Regions from separate parts of the Homo sapiens genome. Here region 2 is linked to region 1. Evidence: promoter capture Hi-C in 16 types of primary human blood cells and fetal thymus (Javierre and others, 2016). All regions are on one chromosome and are shown on one strand. The core of a region is centred on a gene start or on the middle of the fragment in contact, and the rest is flanking DNA. Distances in the headings are between cores, read along the strand shown.

The links. The method cuts DNA at HindIII sites, captures the fragments that hold promoters and counts their contacts. A CHiCAGO score of 5 or more calls a contact.
Region 2: a fragment that was not itself captured here is called in contact with the fragment with the promoter of POC1A in region 1 in 1 of 17 cell types (M2 macrophages); the score reaches 5.2 in M2 macrophages.

The regions. Positions count from the first base shown.
Region 1 is chr3:52,150,422-52,156,497 of GRCh38, reverse strand. It overlaps POC1A (POC1 centriolar protein A), which reads left to right and starts at 2,075. Exons shown (of 11, transcript NM_015426.5): 1 at 2,075-2,143; 2 at 5,398-5,482. The coding sequence starts at 2,126. RefSeq lists enhancers at 728-1,704, 1,705-2,682. The HindIII fragment of the contact is 9,340 bases long and covers 1-2,961 here.
Region 2 is chr3:52,204,078-52,210,475 of GRCh38, reverse strand. It overlaps ALAS1 (5'-aminolevulinate synthase 1), which reads right to left. Exons shown (of 12, transcript NM_000688.6): 6 at 5,561-5,783; 7 at 4,453-4,637; 8 at 3,725-3,904; 9 at 2,229-2,393. Among named protein-coding and RNA genes, the nearest start is that of ALAS1, 9.1 kb to the right of the region's middle. The HindIII fragment of the contact is 7,002 bases long and covers 1-5,345 here.

The DNA.
Region 1 (6,076 bases), core at 826-3,325:
CTCTCTACCATCCCAGAAGTAGGGAAAACTCAAACTTTCCTTCTCTGTTGGAAGCGAGCTCAAACTCCAGAAAGGAGTTACCTGCCTTCCATCGTCAGGGAAGCAGGAAAACCTGCCTTCCTTGTTGGAAACAAGTAAAACTCCAGAAAAAGGAGTTGTACAGTAAAATAAACTTTAGATGTTAACCAAATTTGGGAAGATCAGGAATTTTGTGGAGGGGGGCTCCCAGGCCTTAGCAAATTGTCCTGTAGATTTGAGCCATAAAGATAGCTCAAGCTGGTACCAAGCACCGATAGGAGATCTGTCAAAGGTCAGGGGCACCTCCACTCAGAATCCTTTCGTGGTTGCCAAACTGTCAACCCGAAATACCTGAGACAGGTCTCAGTCAACTTAGAAAATTTATTTTGCTAAGGTTAAGGACACACCCATGACACAGCCTCAGGAGGTCCTGACAACATGTGCCCAAGTGGCCTGGGCACAGCATGGTTTTATACATTTTAGGGAGACAAAATACATCAATCAATACATGTAAGATTTACATTGGTTTGATCTGGAAGGACAAGACAACTCGAAGTGGGAAACTTCCAGGTCATTGGTAGATTTAAACATATTCTGATTGGCAATTGGTTGAAATAATTATTATCAGTAGAAAGGGATATCTCGGTTAAGATAAGGGGTTATGGAGACCAAGGTTTTACCATGCAGATGAAGCCTCCAGGTAGCAGGTTTCAGAGAAAATAGATCGTAAATGTTTCTTATCAGACTTAAGGTTTTTGTTGATGTTAATGCTGGAGGGTATAATGAGGCATGTCCAACCCCCACTTCCCATCATGGCCTGAACCACTCTTTCAGGTTAAATTTGAGTGCCCTGGCCAAGCAGGGAGTCTATTCAGATGGTTGCTGGTGGCCTTCAAATTTTATTTTATATATATATATATTTTTTGAGACGGAGTCTCCCTCTGTTGCCCAGGCTGGAGTGCAGCGGCAACATCTAGGCTCACTGCAATCTCTGCCTCCGGAGTTCGAACAATTCTCCTCCCTCAGCCTCCCGAGTAGCTGGGTTTACAGGCGCGTGCCACCACGCCCGGCTAATTTTTGTATTTTTAGTAGACATGGGGTTTCACCATGTTGGCCAGGCTGGTCTCATACTCCTGACCTCAGGTGATCCACCCACCTCGGCCTCCCAAAGTGGCAAAGTGCTGAGATTACAGGCGTGAGCCACTGAGCCCGGCCTCTCCTTCTTTTAAAGACTGGGTTTCTAACAGCTTCTGAGGCCTTAAGGATCCTGACAGGGCCGGGCTGCACCACACTCCCTCGTGTTACAAATGGGGAAACCGGGGCACAGAGCAGAGGCGTTTTTCCTGAGATCACACAGCCAATCAGGGCGAGAACTGAGAATCGAACCTTGATCTCTCCACTCCATGATTGTGATTCCGAGTAACTCATGTTATTTTAAATCGACACTTGTCTTAAGAACGTTCGGACGGCGAACCACTGAGAGTTCCCGAGGGGCGAATACTCAGCTCTCAATAGGTTCCTGCGGGGAAAATCTGGCTGCGCCGGCGCGCGCGGGTGCTTTAACGCAATCTGGTTACAGCAACCCACGTGTCCTCCGCTTCCGGGATCCTTAAGGCCGTCGCTTCGGGTGGTAAAACCCGGCCCGCCCTCTTGTTGCCCAGGCTGGAATGCAATGGTGCAATCTCATGTTGGGAAGTGTAGCTCCACCTTCCTCCAGACATAGGGGCGTGGGCGGCTTGGAACTGCATTTCCCAGGAGGCTGCGCTCGCCGTTAGAGTAGCCGGACGACGGGCTGGTGGGGTGAACCCTTCATCCTGGGTCTTTTAATTTCTCAGGCGGAACGAGTGGCGGCGGACAGAGGCTTTTGGCTGCGCTGTCTGTGGGTTGTCTGGGCTTGGGGAACTGGGCACGGAGACCGTGGCGCCGGCCGCCGGTCATACAGCTCTGCTTCCAGTCGTCGGGCAAAAAGCTGAGGCGCTTCTCCTTTAATTGCGGTGGGCGGGGCGTGCCGACGCGGCCCGCGTTGCTATTGGTGGCCGTTGGGGGCGCGGAAACTGAACGGGCCGCAACGGCCACCGCAGCTGCCTTCGGCGCCGCCAGCCCCGCCATGGCTGCGCCCTGCGCGGTAAGCCCAGCCGAGAGCAACTCCCCAGGCCTCAGTCTCCCCGCTGGGACACTGGGCGCCTAATGGCCAGAGCGATGGCTGCGAGGGGCGGGCGGGGCGCCAGGTTCCAGGGTGGTCCTCTTCAGGTCCAGTTTACTGTCTGCGCAGGGGGCGCTGGGTCGGGCACTTTCTGAGCGCCTCCTGCGTGCCAGGCCCTGCGCTGGGTTTCTGGAGCGAACAAACAGGCCTCTGCCTCCATAGTTTGCATCCTAGCGAGGGACACACGACCAAGTCCCGACTCATGTGTGACCTGGGGCCGGTATCGGGCCTCTCTAGCCATTCTCCACGTCCTTAGCAGTGGGTGGCTGCGTGGGGTCTTGTTGAGGGTACACCCTGCTCCAGCAGGTAGGTACAGCAGGACGCTGGGATGCCCGGGCCTGCAGTGTGAGCGGGGCGGAGCCGCCCTCTCTGAGTTCACATTCCTCCAGAAGTCCTCATTTCGAGAGATTCCTTTGAACGGGCAAGGCCCTCTGGCTGATTGGAGAGTCAGGGAGGCTGGGTGGTAGCCTGTGATGCCCTGAGGCACTTGAGGACATGGACGGAGATTCCAGGCTAGGATACAGACCTTTTGACTCCTAATCTGGTACTCTACCTCCCTTCCTGTCCCCTCATGTATAAACCACTGTTGAGGGAGATGAGGCCCACATGCAGGGAACTACAGAGGGGAGGCGGTGTTGAGAGATACCATGGGACCTACTGGTCAGGGGTGGACCTGAACTTGCCTCTGCCCACTGAGCCTAGGGGCGGACACTCTCTTACGCATGTTCTTTCAAGAAGCTTAGGTGAGAGCAGAAGGCTCTGTTGGGGACCCTCCCCCAGCTGCTCCTCCCTCTGTTGTTGAAAGGAGACTCTGACAGGTGCGTTAGGGGTGGAGCTGGGCACAAGGCCATAGGGCCTTTGTTCTGGTTACTGCTCTGTAGGGTGGCAGTGGCTTTGCTGTGCCCCAAGGACATCCTTTCCCAGGAGGAGCCTTTGGGCTTCCTGGAGCACCCAAAATGCTTCTTTGAGGTTTCTGATACTTAGAGTAGGGGGAGATGTTTGGATGGCTGAATTATAACCCTTCAAGTGTTAAGACACAAGCTGCTATTGGATGGAGAGAGTCTCCGGAGTATTCTCTCTGGTGTTTTAACTTTATTAAGTTATTCATACACCACAGAATTCACCTTTTAAAGTGTACATTTCAGTAGTTTTTAGTACATTCACAGTGTTGTGCAACTGTAATCACTAATTCCAGAATATTTTCATCATCCCAAAAAGAAACTCCATACTCAATAACAGTCATACCATTTCTTCTCTTTCCCCATTTTCTCCCAACCCTTGGCAAACTAATATATTAATACTTTCTGTCTCTATAGATTTGACTATTCTGAACTTTTCATATGAATGGAATCAGACAAAATGTGGCCTTTGGTGTTTGACTTCTTTCACTTAGCATGTTTTCAAGGTTCATCCATGTTGCAGCAAGCATCAGCACTTCAGTCGGTTTTATGGCTGAATAATATTCTGTTGTATGAATATGCTACATTTGGTTTATTCAGTCATGTGTTGATGGATCATTTGGGTTCAATCACTTGTTGGCTATTAAGGAAAATGCTGCTCTGAACATTTGTGTACAAGTTTTTGTGTAAACCATGTTTTCAACTCTTTGGGGTATTTACCTAGAATTGCTGGGTCATTTGCTAACCACGTTTAACTACTTTATTTTTTATTTTATTTATTTATATTTATTTTATTTATTTATTTTTTGATTAGGAGTCTCACTCTGTCGTCCAGGCTGGAGTGCACTGGTGCAATCTCGGCTCACTACAACCTCCTCCTCCTGGGTTCAAGCGATTCTCCTGCCTTAGCCTCCCAAATAGCTGGGACTATAGGCGCCCACCACCACGCCTAGCTAATTTTTGTATTTTTAGTAGAGAGGGGTTTTCACCATGTTGGCCAGGCTGATCTTGAACTCTTGACCTCAGGTAATCTGCCCGCCTTGGCCTCCTAAAGTGCTGGGATTACAGGCGTGAGCCACTGTGCCCGGCTAACTACTTTTTTTTAGTCAGGGTCTTGCTCTGTTGCCCAGGCTGGAGTGCAGTGATGTGATCACAGCTCACTGCAACCTTGAACTCCTGTGCTCAAGCAGTCCTCCCACCTCACCCTCCTGAGTAGCTGAGAATACAGGCATGAGCCACTACGTGTGGCTAATTCTTTAATTTTTTTGTAGGGTCAGGGTCTTGCTGTGTTGCCCAGGTTGGTCTTGAACCCCTGGCTTAAAGTGATCCTCCTGCCTCAGCCTCCCAAAATGTGGGGATTACAGGTGTGAGCCACTTCACCTGACCTATGTTTAACTTTTTGAGGAACTGCCAAATTACTTTCTATAGTATCTGTGTTTTTTGTTTGTTCGTTTGTTTGTTTGTTTTTAAAGATTTTTTTTTTTTTCTGGGTGTCTTGCATTTTCATGTGAATCTTGGGAGCAGCTTGTCAGTTTCTGCAAAAAAGACACCTGGGATTTTGATAGGAATTATGTGGAATCGGTAGATCAATCTGAGGAGTATCGTAGTATTGTATCTTAACAATAGTAAGTCTTCCTGTTCATGAATGTGGAATGTCTTTCCATTTTTTAAGTCTTCTTTCATTTCTCTTAGTGATGTTTTGTCGTCTTTACTGTACAAGTCCTGCACTTCTTTTGTTAAATTATTCCTTTTTTTTTTTTTTTTTTTGAGACGGAGTCTCGCTCTGTCACCCAGGCTGGAGTGCAGTGGCACAATCTCTGCTCACTGCAAGCTCCGCCTCCTGGGTTCACACCATTCTCCTGCGTCAGCCTCCTGAGTAACTGGGATTATAGGCGCCTGCCACCATGCCCGGCTAATTTAAAATATTGCTATTTTTTTTATGTATCATAAATAGTTTTATTTTTTGGATTATTCATTGCTAGTGTACAGAAAGACAATTGATTTTTGTGTCTTGATTTTGTATCTTGCAACTTTGCTGAACTCATTTGTTTTTTGTTTTTGTTGAAGCATTTCCACAGTTGATGTATTAATTCAAATAGTAAAAACTATTCCTAGTAAAAACTAATCCTAAGTGGATTCCTTAGGATTTTCTTTATATAAGATCATGCCTTGAGCATTTTTAACCCTACTCCCCCGGCTGTTGTAGGAAGAGTGCTGGCCCTGGGGAAGCCCCTTCCTCACCCAGGCTTCACACATTTGACCCTGGCTCTCTCTCAGGAGGACCCCTCGCTGGAAAGGCATTTTAAGGGCCACCGAGATGCAGTTACCTGTGTGGACTTCAGTATCAACACAAAGCAGCTGGGTAAGAAGAGGCACCCTGTCTAGGTGCTAGGTTATGAGCTGAACAGGCCAAGTTTTTACCTCGGAGGGGTGGTGGGTGGGAAGCAGAGCACAAGGACTGCACAGCTTTGTCTAGACCTGCTTCTAGTCTTGCTTCTGCTTGCCAGCTCTTTGGGCACTGGGCTTCATGAGCTTCATTTTACATGCAGAGCCTGAGGGTCAGAGAGGTTAGGGGCCTTGCTAAGGCCACAGAGCTTTTGAGGGTGGGACTGGGATCTGGGTCTTTTCTGCACACCCTAGCCACCTTTTGGGTCTGTCTTTTGGTGTGGGCCCTAAACAGTGACTCCTTTTCCTTGAAGCTTTACTGATTCTGTTGCCCACAGTAATAAGGCACACCTTGTTGAAGAGCCTTGTCAGTGAGAAGGCTGTTGAGCAGAGATGGGCACCCCCCTCGACCCCACTGCTCTTATGCTGCAGCTGACTGTCCCCCTTCCTTGGTTGCATGAGGTTTCGTACACAGCTTTTATGACTGCGCTTTCTGGTTCCTGCAGAGGAGGCTTGCCCCTTCATCCTGTCATCAAGACCCTCTGATGTGTAAAGGTTAAGAGGGAACTGA
Region 2 (6,398 bases), core at 595-3,094, 54 kb before region 1:
TAAAAAAGCTAAGGAAAGTTACAAAAGGGTCTTGCCCAAAGTCATATGGCCAAGCTGGTGTCTAACCAGGATCAAAATGCAGGTCTTCCAATCAGACCTGACACCTCAGTGACTGGTCCCAGTGTGCCCAAATACCCTGCTGCTGCCTCCCTTCCCACCATCTTATTCTCCTTTCCCTTTCTCACCCAGGCTTGCTGCTCTGACAGCCAGCACAGCTCCACTCCCCATGTCTGCACTGCATGTGCTCTTTGGAACAAGACTGGCTCTGCAGTGCTTGTACCATCCTCCCACAGGGAACATTATCCCAGAGGCTGGAATTTTACCCAGCTAAGGCATTAACTGTTTTGGTATGACTGGTGTTATTTCCTACTTAAGAACAAAACTCTTGACAATTAATGCATTAGGATTGATTTAGGGCCAGACTTGGTTTTCAATTCTCATTGAGTCCTTTTGTGTGATCTACATCTCAAGTTTCAGGATTAAAAACTCCAGAAGAGGCCAGGTGCAGTGGCTCACACCTATAGTCCCAGAACTTTGGGAGGCCGAGGGGGGCAAATCACTTGAGCTCAGGAGTTAGAGACCAGCCTGGCCAACATGGTGAAACCCCGTTTCTACTAAAAATACAAAAATTAGCCAGGCATGCTAGCGCACACCTGTAGTCTCAGTTATTCAGGAGGTTGAGGTGGGAGGATCACTTGAGCCCAGGAGGTGGAGGCTGCAGATGAGCTGTGATCACACCTGGGCACAGAGTGAGAGCCTGTCTCAAAAAACAAAAAGAACTCCAGAAGAGTCTTCATAGATCTTAACATAACATTCTATAATTAATGTTTTTGCTAAAACCACATGCAAAGCTGGGTTGGTTCAATCTCCTATGGTATAAAGTTTCTCTCTCCAGCCTTTTCCATCTCACAATGACCATACCTTCAAAGAGCCCACATCAGGAGACATCCTTAAAAGAAAAGAGCTTCTGGCCGGGTGTGGTGGCTCACGCCTGTAATCCCAGCACTTTGGGAGGCTGAGGCGGGCAGATCACGTGGTCAGGAGATTGAGAACATTCTGGCTAACACGGTGAAACCCCGTCTCTACTACAAATACAAAAAATTAGCCAGGCATGGTGGCGGGTGCCTGTAGTCCCAGCTACTTGGGAGGCTGAGGCAGTAGAATGGCATGAACCTGGGAGGTGGAGCTTGCAGTGAGCTGAGATCGCGCCACTGCACTCCAGCCTGGGCAACAGAGTGACACTCCATCTCGGAAAAAAAAGAAAAAAAAGAAAAGAGCTTCTTGAATTAAGACACATGATCAGGTGTTTTTCTCCTGGTAGTGGTTCCACCCTTAGAACTCCCAGGCTTTCTGGGTCTGCACTAGGTTCTCATACCCCTTGACAGTGCTGAAGGACGCTTTTTAAAAAGCCTGCCCTTCCTTTACCAAGCATAGGCTATAAACTGGCATTTTAGCTAACTGCTAGATGGGTTTCCAACTGCCTTACCCACTTCTGAAGGCTTAAAAAAATTCTTCAAAATTACAAAAATTCTTCAAATTTATGTAATTTTCGTCTCTTTAGGGTTCTCATAGGTTCTCAGAGGGAATGTTTATAATAACTGTTTGCATACAACTTATTTACCTTCTCCACATATATTTTGATTTAGGTCCTATTGTTTTCTCCATTATATTGATGATGAAACTGAGGTATAGAAAGGTTAACTACCAACTCAAGGTCACACAACTAGTGAGGTGGCAGGGCTCCAAAGTCTAGCTCCCATCTACCACGAGACATAGCCTCTGTATGAGGAAGAGCAGAGGAAAACCAGGATGAATTAGAATGTTCCCACGTGGCAGGCACGGAGTTCAGCACTTCACAACACCTGAACCTAACAAGTGCTCCAGGAGAAAAGTACTAGAATTCCTTTTTCTTTTTAATTAAGAACAGCCTGAGGCACAGAGAGTACAGGCTCTTGCCATGGCATGGGGCTAGACCCACAACTATGTCTGAAATGAGCTCAGATAGCAATAAATGGTCTATCAGTGTGTTAGGCTGTGGGATTTACTTTGATTCTAAGAGCCATGCCTCCATGACCCAAGGGATTCCACTAAGCTGGGCCAAAAGAAAGAGTGGCCCAGGCTTCATATGCTGTCAGGCTGTCTCCTCACCTGATCCCAGTTAGACTAGTTAGTCCTTGGCCTTGTTAGGATAATGGAATTTTAGTGTATGTAATACAATGTATACATACCAAGTGTTCCAGAAATGATGTCCATTTTTGGCATGACTCCATCCCGATCCCCAATCCCTCCGCCTCGAGCCCCATAAAGCCCCACTGCGTGGACCTCATCCACGAAGGTGATTGCTCCAAACTCATGGGCCACATCACACAGCTCTTCCAGTGGGCACACCGCCCCTGAGGAAAGACCAGAGACTGCTCTGAAGAGCTTTTGCCGCTTCAGAAATTTCTGTTTTGGTTAGAGTCAGAACAACGTAAACTTCTATTCTAAGGTATCATTTTCAATATTGGAAAGAAAATGAACTTCCTCTAATTTCTAGGTTACCTGGGGTCCCAGAGCCTAGTAAAAGCCAGAATAGAAAATCCACTTTCACCCAAATCTATTAGAAAAAAGTCCACCAATTACAAATCTTGGCAGAATGCAATACTACACAGCAATAAAAAAAGAATGAGACCATGTCCTTTACAGCAATACGGATGGAGCTAGAGGCCATCCTAAGTGAATTAATACAGGAACGGAAAAACCAAATATCGCTCTCACTTATAAGTGGGAGCTAAACACTGAGAACACATGGACACAAAGAAGGGAACAACAGACACCAGGGACCGACTTGAGGGTGGAGGGTGGGAGGAGGGTGAGATCAAAAACTACCATTGGGTACTATGCTTACTACCTAGGTGATGAAATAATTGGTACACCAACACCCTGTGACACATAATTTACCCATATAATAAACCCGCACATGTACCCACTGAACCTAAAAGTTGGAAGAAGAAAAAAAAAAATCCTGGCAGAAAGGAAAAGAAAATTAAAAAACACAACAGGCCAGGCGCGGTGGCTCACGCCTGTAATCCCAGCACTTTGGGACGCCAAGGTGGGCGGATCACAAGGTCAGGAGATTGAGACCATCCTGACTAACACAGTGAAACCCCGTCTACTAAAAATACAAAAAGTTAGGCCAGGTGCGGTGGCTCACACCTGTAATTCCAGCTCTTTGGGAGGCTGAGGCGGGCAGATCACAAGGTCAGTAGATCGAGACCATCCTAGCTAACATGGTGAAACCCTGTCTCTACTAAAAATACAAAAAATTAGCTGGGCGTGGTGGCAGGCGCCTGTAGTCCCAGCTACTCAGGAGGCTGAGGCAGGAGAATGGCGTGAACCCAGGAAGTGGAGCTTGCAGTGAGCCGAGATCACGCCACTGCACTCCAGCCTGGGTGACAGAGGGAGACTCCGTCTCAAAAAAAAAAAAAAAAAAAATTAGCCAGGCGTGGTGGCAGGTGTCTGTAGTCCCAGCTACTCGGGAGGCTGAGGCAGGAGAATGACGTGAACCCGGGAGGCGGAGCTTGCAGTGAGTCGAGATCGCACCACTGCACTCCTGCCTGGGCAACAGAGCGAGGATCGGTCACAAAAAAAAAAAATTAAAAAACACAACAAAACACCATACTTTTAAAGAGTTCAGGCATAGTTTTTCATCTTAGGTTTCAGAGGAACCTCTATCCACACTTACCATCCATTGAATGGACAGTTTCAAATGCCACAATCTTGGGGACTGAGGGGTCAGATCTTTGCAGCAGTTCTCTGAGGTGGCTGACATCATTGTGGCGGAAGATGTACTTTGGCACTCGGCTGTTTCGAATCCCTTGGATCATGGAGGCATGGTTCCCAGAATCAGAGTAAATCTCACAGCCTAAGACAACAAAAATGCTATTTATTGCCATGTGCATCGAAGACAAATTATTTCCTAGAGAAAGACAACAGACTTTTCCTTGGAAATGATGCTTTGAAAATGCCTAGTAGGAAAAAGACACTGTGTGCCAGTTTCTTCCTGGCAAAATAACTAGTTAGTGCTTCCCTTGTGAGAAGGCCCAAAGGTGTAGAATAACCTTGTGGCAGGCCATTAATCTGCTCTTAAATCTGACTGCCTCACTCCAAACTCAATCAAGAGCTAACTAAATGATTAAGAGACTTCTCCAAAGGATCATCTTAGAATACAAAACATATTTGAGGCAATTAGCTCAAGGATGAGACGTTTCAAGTTTGAATTTTCACTGGTATCACGTTCTCCTGGAACCCATAATGTACAGTCAGCATTTCATGCTTGACCCCAGAACAAATGCCCAGATAGGATTATGATTTTCAATTGAGAGGTTCTGGTAAGGCTTCTTTGTTGCCAATATTCTTGTTATTACTAAGAAACCCAAAAAACTCGAAGGCACTCATGCCAGGCTTCCTTACCTGGCATCATCTTAGCCAGGGTGAAGAGGGTTGAGTCATTGGCCACAAAGCACGAGGAAAACAAGAGTGCGGCATCTTTCCCATGGAGGTCTGCCAGCTCCCGCTCTAAGTCCACATGGAATTTACTAGTTCCAGAAATATTTCTAGTACCACCTGCCCCAGCACCATGTTGTTTCAAAGTGTCCCTGTTTAAAAATACAAACAAAACCAGAAAATAAAGCTCATGGTTCTCAACACCATGTGAATTTTTTCCCCTTTCTAGGATCCAGGAGACTGAAACATGTTGATGTAGCAACTCTCTCACTGTGAAACCTGGGGTCAGAAATTTCAACTGATTTCATCTTCAGACTAGGTGGGAGAAGGTGTCAATGCTAGGGTGATGATACCTCCAGGAATCATCAAGAACAAGTGTTCATTTAACAGTCAGTAAGTGCTTGGTATTAGCTGAGTTTCTTTTCTAAGAAACTAAGGTTTATTTTCTGAGAAACATTATTCTTTCCAATAACATGTTAGCTTAAGAAAAAGCAAACTCTAGAGGGACATCCTGGATGGTGGTTACCCTCTGCAAGCCAGTCATGTAATGTTTGGATATATCACTATCATTAAACCTCAAACCGGGACCCTCTTTAGCAAGCCTTTGGAGAATCTGGCCAGCAACTCTCTCCAGCATCCCTAGGATGGTGAGCCTCCTGAAGGACGAGTGATGGGATCTACCATCCTTTTTAACATGTCTTTTGGAGTAGCTTTTTCTCTAGCGCTGCTAGATTCGTATTTCTCCACTCACAGCCACAACCAAGGATGTCTCTGTGAAAGACTGCCTGGTGTTAAAGGCACACTCACTTGCAGAGTGATAGAAAGTGGACTGACGTGTGTGGTCATTGAGCCTATAAGCTTGAACCCTCACAAGTTAAGGGGCTCCAGCAGCTACCTGCATATTAGAGTTCCTTTAAAAGTAATCTGTAGATATTTTTCAGAAGCTAAGAATAGTATTTTGCTATGGCACACTTTCAGCTACTGAATGTTCCCTCCATAAAAGATCCAACCCCTATACATCATCATTGGCTTGCCAAATAACAACAGTAATATTTGAAAGCCAAGGGCTACTTACATAACTGCCCCACACACCCGTGGGTGGCGACTCATTCCTAGGTAGTCATTACTGCACCAGACTGACACTTGCTTTTTGGTGATGAGGGAGTCTGAATAGTCATCTGCCATGGGGAAGATGTGTGCTCGCCGGTTCACAGTTTTAAAAACTCGATAGGTGTGGTCATTCTTTTTCTCATCAATTTTTTTCTCAAAGAAACGATCATACTGAAAAGTGGAAACAGCTAAAAATTGAACAAAAGACAGTACAGAATGGTGGTTGTGAAACACAGCTGCATTTTGGTGAAATACAACAAGTCTCAGCTTGGCAACTGAGGGAGATCCTGGGCAGGTTATTTGATGTCCTCATCTTGTAAGTAAATAAGACTGTATGTCGTGTTTGGCTCAGTGCCATGTGTAGACGGTAAGTATTAAAGGACAGAAGGCAGGCTACCAACAGCACCTGTAGTCACCACAACCAAAAGCACCTGCTCACGCAAGCAAGGGATATGGCTTTCAAGCCTCAACTCACCATACATTTTTTTGTTTTTCCTAGAAACTGAGTCTCTGTCTGTCATTCAGGCTGGAGTGCAATAGCGTGATCATAGCTCACTGAACCTTGAAGTCTTGGGCTTAAGCAATCTTCCTACCTTAGCCTCCTGAGTAGCTGGGACTATAGATGCAAGCCATCATGCCTGGCTAATTAAAAAAACTGTTTTGGTAGAGATAGTGTCTTGCTATGTTGCCAAGGCTGGCCTCAAACTCCTGGCCTCAAGTGATCTTCTCCCGCTTCAGCCTCCCAAAGTGCTGGGATTACAGGTATGAGCTACTGTGCCCAGCCTCACCATGCAATTTTATAT